Linked DNA regions of Homo sapiens: region 1 is linked to region 2. Evidence: promoter capture Hi-C in 16 types of primary human blood cells and fetal thymus (Javierre and others, 2016). All regions are on one chromosome and are shown on one strand. The core of a region is centred on a gene start or on the middle of the fragment in contact, and the rest is flanking DNA. Distances in the headings are between cores, read along the strand shown.

Region 1 (5,506 bases), core at 1,803-4,302, 120 kb after region 2:
AAATACACATGCTAAAAGTCAGATATACAAAAATAATTGTAATTTCTAATCTTCTGTAATTGAGATAATGTTGCCCTCAAGCTCTGTTCATCTGGTTAGTGGTGGGCTGAGTGTGGAGTGGAGAAAGTGAGACAGGCAAGCTTGTTAATTTGCATTATCTTAGTTTCTTCTAGTTTAAAATAATCTTACTTGGGTTTAACACAGTCTTTTTTTGGTAAATGCTTACTCTTTTATGGTTTACCCATTTATTTTTCACATAGTAGCATCCTATTTCCGGGGACCTATGTCTGTTTATACCATGAAGGTTGGATCCCTGGTCCATGTGCTGTCCCTTGGGATAACAAATCTAGTTTTCAAATTATCAAAATAGGGAAAATAATGCTGGGTAAAATTAATATCTAAGGTCACTTGTTGACAAGCGCTTTGAAAAGTACTAGTACATTATTCTGACACTCTTGAGATTCTACACTGTGGCTGCTTCTTCATTTATAAGGCCCTAAATTATAACAAAAAATCTCCTGGTCTATGTTAATAACATAGGCAGAGACATCAAGATCACTGTATATATTCAGGTTCACATGTCTCATTATTTTAAATACATTATTAAACCTAAATACTTTCACTTGCTAATCACCTTTGGAATAACAAAGAAAATGTTTAAATATTTTGTGACCTATAAGAAAATGTCAAGGCAATGATCATAGCAGCTTTTTGCTGATTTTTGGCATTGCTTAAAGCAATTAAGTGCAAAACACAATAGAAAAGTAGAGTTTTTCAGTCTCTGTTTTTAAATTTGAGTCTATGGATGCCTCTAAAAATGAGACATTCCATTTATAAATTACCCAGTCTTATGGTGAGTGATGGGGAATGGCCTCAACTTACAGCATTCTAGAAGAAAATTTGGAAAATGCTGCCTAATTTCTTCAGTTATCTGCAAAAGCAAATACTTTTCTCGAAGGATCTTTTTCAATGAGAAAACAGTCCCTCTGTGGTAGAATTTCCTCTTTTTACATTTGAAGGTGAAATGTATATCATCCAGATTATCATCAAATGTTTTAACTGTTTAAATATCAATTTAGAAAAAAGTACCTATTTAGAAATATTTTTTCTTACTCTCTAAATTTAAATGATGCGTGTTATAAACTAGAAGAAACTGCAAATGTCCTTTTGGGAAGAAAGGCGTTAAGTTAGCAGGTCTGAGACTTCAATTCTCCAAAAAGCCTACTTGCAAGGCGGCTGATGTCTGAGAATTTGAATTTGGAGGTGTTCTCACCAATTCTCTTAGTGATAAAGTTGGTTTGCTGTGCCTAGACTGAAACACAGCGTGGTGTATGCCAAACACCTGCTTTCCTTCTGGTGGTCTGGAAGTTTGGTACATGGTAAGCAGGGGCTGTCTACATGACAAGCTCCGAATAAAAACCTTGGGTACTGATATGGTTAAGCTTTGTGTCCCCACCTAAAGCTCATCTTCAATTGTAATCCCCATAATCCCCACGTGTCAAAGGAGAGACCAGGTGGACTTCATTGAATCATGGGGGAAGTTTCTCCCATGCTGCTCTTGTGATATCGAGTGAGTTCTCACGAGACCTGTTGATTTTATAAGGGGCTCTTCCCTACTTCGCTGGGCAGTTCTCTGCCTTGCCACCTTGTGAGGAAGACGTCTGCCTCCCCTTGCCTTCCACCGTGATTCTGAGTTTCCTGAGGCCTTCCCAGCCATGTGGAACCGTGAGTTAATTAAACCTCTTTCCTTTGTAAATTACCCAGTCTTGGGTATTTTCTTCATAGCAGTGTGAGAAAGGACTGTTACAGGTACAGAGTCTCTAGTGGGCCTCTGGACAGAAACATCACACAGGTGCTGCGTTTGTTTGCTGTGGAAGAGGATGCTCAGTGTGACCTCTCATGGGAAGGGGTGAGTGTAGGGAGCCTGCACGTGGATTCCTCTGGACTTGCCTGTGCTGGTTCCCTTATGCTGTGCCGTATATCCTCACTACACTGCCCTTAATAAGTCTTAGCTGTGAGTACAACTATACAACTACATGTTGGCTCCCATGGATCATTTTAGGGAATCTCCAAGCAAGGGATGGTCTCAGGGACCCCATTACACCCCTACAATATTTTACAATTTTTTTTTTAATGAAGCTTGACATAAAAATGGAAAAGTACAAATGTGCCATTAGCTGCTGCTTTATAGGATTTTTTTTTTTGCCACAAAGATTAAATTTTGTCTCATTCTGATAATCAAATAGGTCAAACTTTCTTTCTGCAGGGTTACATGGTAGCATTTTATAGTTACAAAAATATGACAGGACATCATAGATACCTAGTTTCAGCATAAATACTGAATAAAGAAAATGAACATGCAAACTTTTAAAAGAAACTGTGTTGTGTGAATGGTACAAATTTTAATCCAAATAAGGTTCATACTGGCCCTTTATAACTATGCAGCTCAGAGGGAGGAAAAATGTAACTGGGCTGGTAAATGTGCAACAGCTGGCAAGCTTCTGTTGCCAGCTCTTATTTTAGATTACTCAGAGTCCCGGCTCTATGAAATGTAGTTCAGAATCTCAAAGAAATGTCAGAGGGGATTTTTGAAACTTCATTTCTTTTTTATTTTCTTGAGCTCATTAAGTTAGTAAATGTGGAAGGAAGTGTGACTGAAAAGAACCTATGGTAGGTAGGATGATAAATAACAATTCGGAAAAGCAGATAGCTGTAACTTGTAGTGAGTTTTAAGTTGATGCCTTCATATTGCCAGTTAAGCTATTGTGAAAACTTGCCATTGACTAATTGAATGCTGACTTATTTAGAAGGAAAACCTGAAAGCCAATTAAATAAATCCAAAATGCTTGTAGTCCCTGGGCTCTCTCAAAGTACCTATTTATAAGGATTCTGGGGCTTCAGATACATTTTAAAAATGTTAGTGACGTTTCAAAATCCTACGGATTTTATTATTATCTCATTGAAGGGAATAAAATGCAGTATAGATTTGGCTGTGATAGAAAATAGAAAAAATAAAAGATAAAAATTCAGTTTGTATAATGTAAAGAGTTGTCCCAGATGCTCTCCTAGGCCTCCTGCCTGGTATCTCTATTCCATTCTGCATTGGTATTATTGCTGCATCCTTTAATGGATTGATGGAATGACAGTGCTCACCTAATATAACGTGATTGAGTGTAAATGAGAAAGTTATTGTCATGTTTAGTTAAAGAATTTATATGTTTTTTGTGTGTGTGTTTTGAAGTGCTATATCTAAGAACTTACTTTATTGCTCTTAGTGCACAAATAATCAATGAAAATGTACCCACTGATTATTATGGGCAGGAGGAGAGGCCTCATGGCTCTTTCATATTGCACCAGAGAAGGTACACTTTTATTCATGGACTGTGAAGTTTCATGTTCAATAAACAGCAATAGAATACTTTTTCTGAATGTAAAAAGTTACATAATATAATTTCTATATGTTCCATTCCACTCATGCTGTTTTTCCCTATTCACTTTTTAGTTCATGTAGCTAATTAAGATTTTCCATAAGTTGAAACCTCTGTTTTTCTACAATTTTTTTCTTCCCTCATCTTTCAGTTAAAGCGTTTATGTAATTCAAGCTTTAATCACATGACTGGTTTCTAGACACTCATGAGAAAATTAGTGTTCATATATAAGTATGTAGTATATGTGTATATATGTGTGTGTATACATACATATGTGTGTGTGTGTGTATATATATATATATATGCACACATTACTTGGAAGATGAAGACCACCAGATACAATCACTCTTCTACTTTCTCCCATTCTCTCATTCTCTTCAGAAGGCTCAGAAGAGGAAGTTGATCTAACCATTTATGATCAATAATTTTCCCACCGATGCAGAAGATTCCACACATTCTCCCCTAATGAGAGATTTCACTTTTGTTTTCATGCTGTGTGGTTAATTTTATGTGTCAATTTGACTGGGCTAAGGAATGCTCAGATAGCTGGTAAAACACTGTTTCTGAGTGTGTCTGCAAGGGTGTTTCGGGACGAGATGAGCATTTGAATTGGTAGACTGAGTGAGGAAAATTGTCCTCCCCAATGTTGGTGAGTATAATCTCATCCTTTTAGGGCCTGAACAGAACAAAAGGCAGAGGAAGGAGAAATTCGCCTGTTATTCTTTTGCCTCACTGCTGTGCTGAAACATGCCATCTCATCTTATCCTGTGCTCAGATTGAGATCTACACCATTGGCTCCTCTGGTTCTCAGGCCTTTGAACTTGGACTGGATTATACCTCTGGCTTTCTTTGTTCTCCAGTTTACAGATGGCAGACTGTGAACTTTTCAGCCTCCATAATTATATGAGAGTAAATCTATATATAAATCATAAATCTCTCTCTCTCCATCTATACTTCCCCTCCCCTCCCCTTCCTTCCCCTCCCCTCCTTCCCTCTTTCCTTCCTTTCTCTGGGTAATCCTGACTAATATACATGCCTTCCCCACATTAAAATTGTTTTCTTCTTCCTGAATACTTCACCTTTAAGCTTTTATCTCCTTAATCTCTACCTAAATCTGATATTATGCTTTTCTCCAGTGGTTGACAGAGGAATTTTGTGGATACCTTTGATTAAAGATCTGTATTGTATTGAAACAATAGTTTTCTCTTGAATGTCAACTTCCTGGCTACTTTGAGAAGCACCATAATGTGGAACTCTTAGCCACTGCTCTTATTCATGAGTGTTTTGTAATTTACCCACTGTCATGCTGAACCCCTGTTGACTCCAGTAGGAATGGCACCATGTCTGAGAGGTCAAATAAAAGACCTAGAAGCAGCGAATGAGACGTAGGGTTTACTGAGGACTTACATACAGGGATAACCTTAATCCCCCTTATTATGGGGGATTAAGGTCCTTTGTTTTGGATTAAATGGAAGTTGCTAGCTGGAGGGTGCTTAGTGGAAATGCTATGTCACCTGCATGTTTTTACAAATGGTAGCAGTTCTCCTGTCCAGCTTGTCACCATTGAGATGCCCCTGTATGTAAGATAGAGGAGTCTAGGGAACCATATGAGGAAGATAGAGGAGTCTAGGTTCTTGGCTTTAGCAATGGGCAGGCTGTTGTATCATTCACTGAGCAGGGAACACAGGAAGAACTGCAGCCTTGGAGAGGAAAGTAATGAGTTGAATGTCGGATATGTAAAAGTTGACTTGCCAATATTACATACAGAGTGAGTTATTCATCAGTGGTTTAATGTATGAGTTTGCAGCCCAAAAGAGAGATCTAGGCTTGAGATAAATATTCAGAAATTGTCAACATAGAGAGGTATGCAAAGCTAAGGTGCAGGAATAAATTTTCTTTTTTTTAATTATTATTATACTTTAAGTTTTAGGGTACATGTGCACAATGTGCAGGTTTGTTACATATGTATAAATGTGCCATGTTGGTGTGCTGCACCCATTAACTCATCATTTAGCATTAGGTATATCTCCTAATGCTATCCCTCCCCCCTCCCCCTACCCCACAACAGGCCCTGGTGT
Region 2 (4,957 bases), core at 215-2,714:
TAGGACACATTTTGAGTATGAATAGAGTTACTCAAAATATCCTATCAATATACAGTGGGCTTCCATATTTCTTTCCCCTTTAATTATATGCCACTTCCATTTGTGTTTCATCAGTGAAAAAGTAATTTGGAGGCCTTCTCATTCATTATCCCGCAGCTGGAGTTTTCATTCGTTTGTACTGGGGGGGACCCTCGCCTTAACTGCACACACCTCCCTTTCCTCTGGGTCCCATCCTTGCCATCTGCCAGGGGCAAAGTTGAAGCAGCCCCTCCACACTACTGCTTAACCAGGTCTGACATCCTCATCCAATTCTACTGTCAGCGGCATTCTGCTCAGAGATCACTTTTGTTTTACCCCAAGCACAGGCAGTGACTGAATAAAAGGCAATGAAAGAAAGAAGAGTCCTGCCCAGAACCGCAGGTACGAGTCACAACAGGGCCCCGAGAGCAGCCTGTGGTAAGAAGTGTGGCTTCCAGGTACCCGCCTCCACACTCAGCCCAGCCTTATGTATGCAAGGAAAATCACACCCCAGGAAAGACCGACATTCTTTCTCCTGTTGAAACTCCAAGCCCAAACTGTTATTCTAAAGGAAGCGCATTGCCTTTCAAGGCCTTCCAGTTCTTCCTACTGCTTGGGAACTGATGCGCGTTCCTCCTCCTGACGCCGGCCTGGGATAAGAGGAGAGTAGGGGGCAGGTGGCGGAGAATATGCCCATGTTTCAGAAAGCCGGTCCACCCGGTGTGCCCCGTCTCACCAGATGTGCAGACAGCTGAGGGTGGCAAAGAGAATTCCCGCAATGAAGGCCAGGGGAATGGCCAGGAACACCGTCAGGAACTTGTACATTACGTATTTGCTGATTTCAAAGAGGGCATGGCTGCAGATCCACACTTTGTCAAAGGAGTGCGTAGTCACCGGCTCTGCGATCACATCCTCGAAGCCCAGCTGAGGAGACAGGACGCAGGGACCCCGAACTGTCAGCCAACCTGACGCCCCGGGAACCGGGAGCGCTTTGGGCGGGGGAAGCAGGAGGGAAGGACGTGCCAGGGCGTCCGCCTCTTCTCTTAGGGTCACGGTGGGCGCACAGGAACCTGGCTAAGAATTCCTGGCTACGCGGGCGGCCTGGTGACGGGTGGGACCGGGGAAGGGTGCGGGTCTCAGACCCTGCGGGGCCGACCCGGTAGCAATGGTGGGACGGGTTAGGGCGGGGCTGAGGGGCGCCCGCACCTCCCGGCCTCAGCGGGGACTTGGGCCCGCCCGCCCCGGGCTTCACCTTGAGATGCGAGTTGAGCCGGTGGGGATCCCGGTCCTGGTCCGAGTCCGCGAACTTCTCGGGGTCGGCGTACTCGAGGCCGCTGTGGTGGCTGTAGGAGTCGTCGTCCATGAAGAGCTGTACGTCCGCCTTCTCCGTCTCCAGCCCCATCGCAGCCTTGGTGCGCGGCCGCTGCAGCCCGGCTGGCGCGGTGCGGCTCCCGGTCCGCGCGGCCTCCCCTTCCCGTAGCGCCCGGCCCCGCCCCCCCTCGCCTCGCCTAGCCCTGCGAGGCCCGGGCGGCGGCCGCTTCCCGCTGTGGGCTCCAGCTCCCAGCCCGGCCGTCCCGAGCCCCGCCCCGGCGCCCCGCCGCCCCTCCCCGCCCACCTCCCCCGCCGGGGCGCAGGGAACCGTCCCCACGAGTCACAGCCCGGGCCCTGCAGTGGGCGGCGACGCCGGCAGCTGGGACGAGGAGGGCCTCCTGGTCACCCTTCTGGGGGCCCGTACTGTCATGCCTCAGAGCTGGCAAGTCGTCCCAGGGAAGACAACGGCCTTCCTGGAGGGAGGGAACCTTGTGGTTAGGCGCATGGGGTGCGAAGCAGGTATGTGCTCACCTCCGGCTGTGTTTGCCTTGCGTGCTGCGGCTCATGGTGCTGGTATTGAGCCTCTGGGAACCTCAGCTGCCTCGTTGGCAAAATGGGGGCTGTGGCATCTGTTTCAGGGGTGTCCGTGAGAATTAAATGTTAATTTCACATAAAATTCTAACACACATGGCCCATGGCCCGTAACACACAGTGATAAACTTCCAATCAACGTTGTTGCTGCTGTCGTGAGAGGTAAGGAGCCACAATGTACCTGAGTGCTAGGTACCTGAGTGCTAGGTGACCTGCAAGTGCATGTGGAGTTGGGTAGGCGAACGCCCTGGCCCTAGAGTTTGTGCCTTCAGATCTGAGGTGTGAGGGGAGATCTGATTTTTTTTTTTTTTTTTTTTTTACTTCCTAAACTACACCGTGTGTGTGTGTGTGTGTGTGTTTGTGTGTGTGTGGCAGAGTTTCGCTCTTGTTGCCCAGGCTGGAGTGCAATGGCACGATCTCGGCTCATCGCAACCTCTGCCTCCCGGGTTCAAGCGATTCTCCTGCCTCAGCCTCCCGAGTAGCTGGGATTACAGGCATGCACCACCACGCCTGGCTAATTTTGTATTTTTAGCAGAGACGGGGTTTCCCCATGTTGGTCAGGCTGGTTTCGAACTCCCAACCTCAGGTGATCCGCCCGCCTCGGCCTCCCAAAGTGCTGGGATTGCAGGCGTGAGCCACCGCGCCCGACCTCCACCTTTTAATTTTCTTGTGAACCAGACTGTCTTGAAAGATTCAGGAACTTCTAAGATGCAGTCACATCTGTGATTATCTTGCAGGCAGCACGGAAACAGAACCCTAACACAAAGCCACATTGCAATGGATGAATTAGCCTGCTGACCACTCACGCAAAGGTTTTCAGAAGGGAGGAGTTTGCATGTTCATAAAGGGCTTTAGGGTCTGGTAGACATATACGTGTGTTTGGGGAGGAAGGGCACTTAGTGAAAATTTGCCAAAAGCAAAACAATGAGAACTAGGCTTGAGGTGCAGGTTGCTCAGAGCTCAAAGTAGGCATGTAGTAGGTATTGCTGGATACAGTGTATTTGGAGCTTGTTGAACATATCAAATCCCCTTATGTGAACTGGATTTGAAGAATTGCTTCTTCCGAAAGAAAAAAGATCATTTTTGAAACAGTAAAAATTACAGAAATAAAAAAGAACAGGAACTGAATGAGAAAAATGTTTGGGGGTGGGAGGCAAAGTTCAATATTTCTAATAATTAAAAAGTTTCCCTGCTGCTACCTCAGTATATGAAGGGCAGTGTTGTAACCCTATAGGGTGTTACAGAGTTGACTCTCATGGCTATGGAGCCCCTCCTCTCCCAGACATCACCCTGCTTACCCATTCCCTTCTTTTTTACGTATCTTTCTCATTTTTATTTATGTTCAGTCAATTCCAAAGTGATGACTTAGACATTCTACTCATTGCATTTTCTCTGCTTCTCCACCTTGTCCATTCTCCTGATGAGAATTGGAACTCTTCTAGAATTGTTGCCCAACAACTGTTCATTAAAGTGAATAGAAGACATGAATCCTTATGGGAATCCATAATATCAACTGTGAGGAACAGAAAAAAAAAGGAGATAATTTACAGCCAAATACCATTTTATAATTATAATTCAAAATTATAATCCCAGATTTCAAGGTCTCACCCAAAGAAGAAAGTCACTGCCCTAGTACAAGAGTGGGCTTATGTAGTGGGTAAAAATCTGACATTAGCACTTCTTACCTTATAATTCTTGGTCCTCATTACATTTACATTTTCCATGGGATTATTAGGACATTTGAGAGTTATCACAAATAATTGATTTGTTTTCAGGAAGTGGCCAAGAGGACTCTTTAGACAACAGCTTCATTCGTAAAATGATAGGTATTTAAGAAAGGTGTCTCTAAATCCCATCTAAATGAGACCCATCTAGATTTGTTGTATGGAGCACAGAACTTGAAAGGAGAGGATTCATTTATTCATCCATTTGTAATTTTTTATTGAACAATCTTCTCTCCCTTGGGTCAGATCTGGTGAGGTTCTTATTTTGATGAAATTCTTATACATTTCAACATTTTAATACATAAGATTTTTTGAAGGAAGCTATAAAAATGATTTTGCTTATCCTATTGGCCAGTATTTAGATAAGGTTAGTGATATGGCTTGGATTTGTGTCCCTGCCCGAATCTCATGTGGAACTGTAATCCCCAGTGTTGGAGGTGGGGCTTGGTGGGAGGTAGAGATTAGATCATGGGGGCAGAGTTCTTAGGAATGGTTTAGCAACCACCCCCACTGCCACCCCTGCCCCCCGACCCCGCAGTTGGTACTGTATAGTGAGTGAGTTCTCATTAGATCTCGTCCTTCAAAAGTGTGTGGCACCTCCCCCTCACCTTTCTTTGGCTCCTTCTGTGGCCACGTGAGGTGATACTCCCTGTTTACCTTCCGCCATGATTGTAAGTTTCCTGAGGCCTCCCCAGAAGCTGAGCAGATGCCATCATAATGCTTCCTGTACAGCTAGTGGAACTGTGAGCCAACTAAACCTCTTTTCTTTATAGATTACCCAGTCTCAGGTATTTCTTTATAGCAGTGTGAGAACGGACTAATATAGTTAGCTACTGTTTTTCTCAAGAGGCTTAAACCAGAGTGATTCCCACAGCAATGGCATCTGTCCTTATGAACATAAAGGAAAATTTACCAGGAAAGGGAAAAGAAAGGGGGTGGGTGGGTGCTAAATGGCTGAACACATTCTAGTGTCTTCTGGATCACAGAATTACTCTCCAATAAGCACCTCCTACAGAGTTTACGTGCCCTGTAATCCAGAGAAATTAAAAAAATTATAATAAATTCCTACTGGTGCATTTATCTTCTGACTTATTATGTATCATAGCTTCTGATAAGAGGGCTGTTTTTTAGATGGTGTATTAATATATTTTAGAAATAACAGTCTGATAATAGATTAGAATTTGTGAGAAGGATAGTTTATAACCATTTTGTTACTCACTTCTTTCAGCACAGTGTCAATGGAAGAAGGTTATTTTTCTGGAGCATTGAAAATTGTATGGCAATGCTCTTATGAATAAAAATATCTAATTTTT

The links. Contacts are between HindIII fragments. The CHiCAGO score rates a contact against its expected background, and 5 or more counts as called.
Region 1: a contact is called between a fragment that was not itself captured here and the fragment with the promoter of CAV2 in region 2, in 1 of 17 cell types (endothelial precursors). The highest score is 7.8, in endothelial precursors.

What each region holds. Positions count from the first base shown.
Region 1 is chr7:116,377,211-116,382,716 of GRCh38, reverse strand. No RefSeq gene overlaps it. Among named protein-coding and RNA genes, the nearest start is that of CAV2-DT, 120 kb to the left of the region's middle. The HindIII fragment of the contact is 1,104 bases long and covers 2,501-3,604 here.
Region 2 is chr7:116,496,245-116,501,201 of GRCh38, reverse strand. CAV2 (caveolin 2) reads right to left here and starts at 1,464. Exons shown (of 3, transcript NM_001233.5): 1 at 1,271-1,464; 2 at 755-942. The coding sequence starts at 1,420. CAV2-DT (CAV2 divergent transcript) reads left to right here and starts at 1,686. Exons shown (of 3, transcript NR_188012.1): 1 at 1,686-1,848. RefSeq lists a silencer at 1,492-1,581 and enhancers at 1,762-1,901, 1,948-2,449. The HindIII fragment of the contact is 7,148 bases long and covers 1-4,957 here.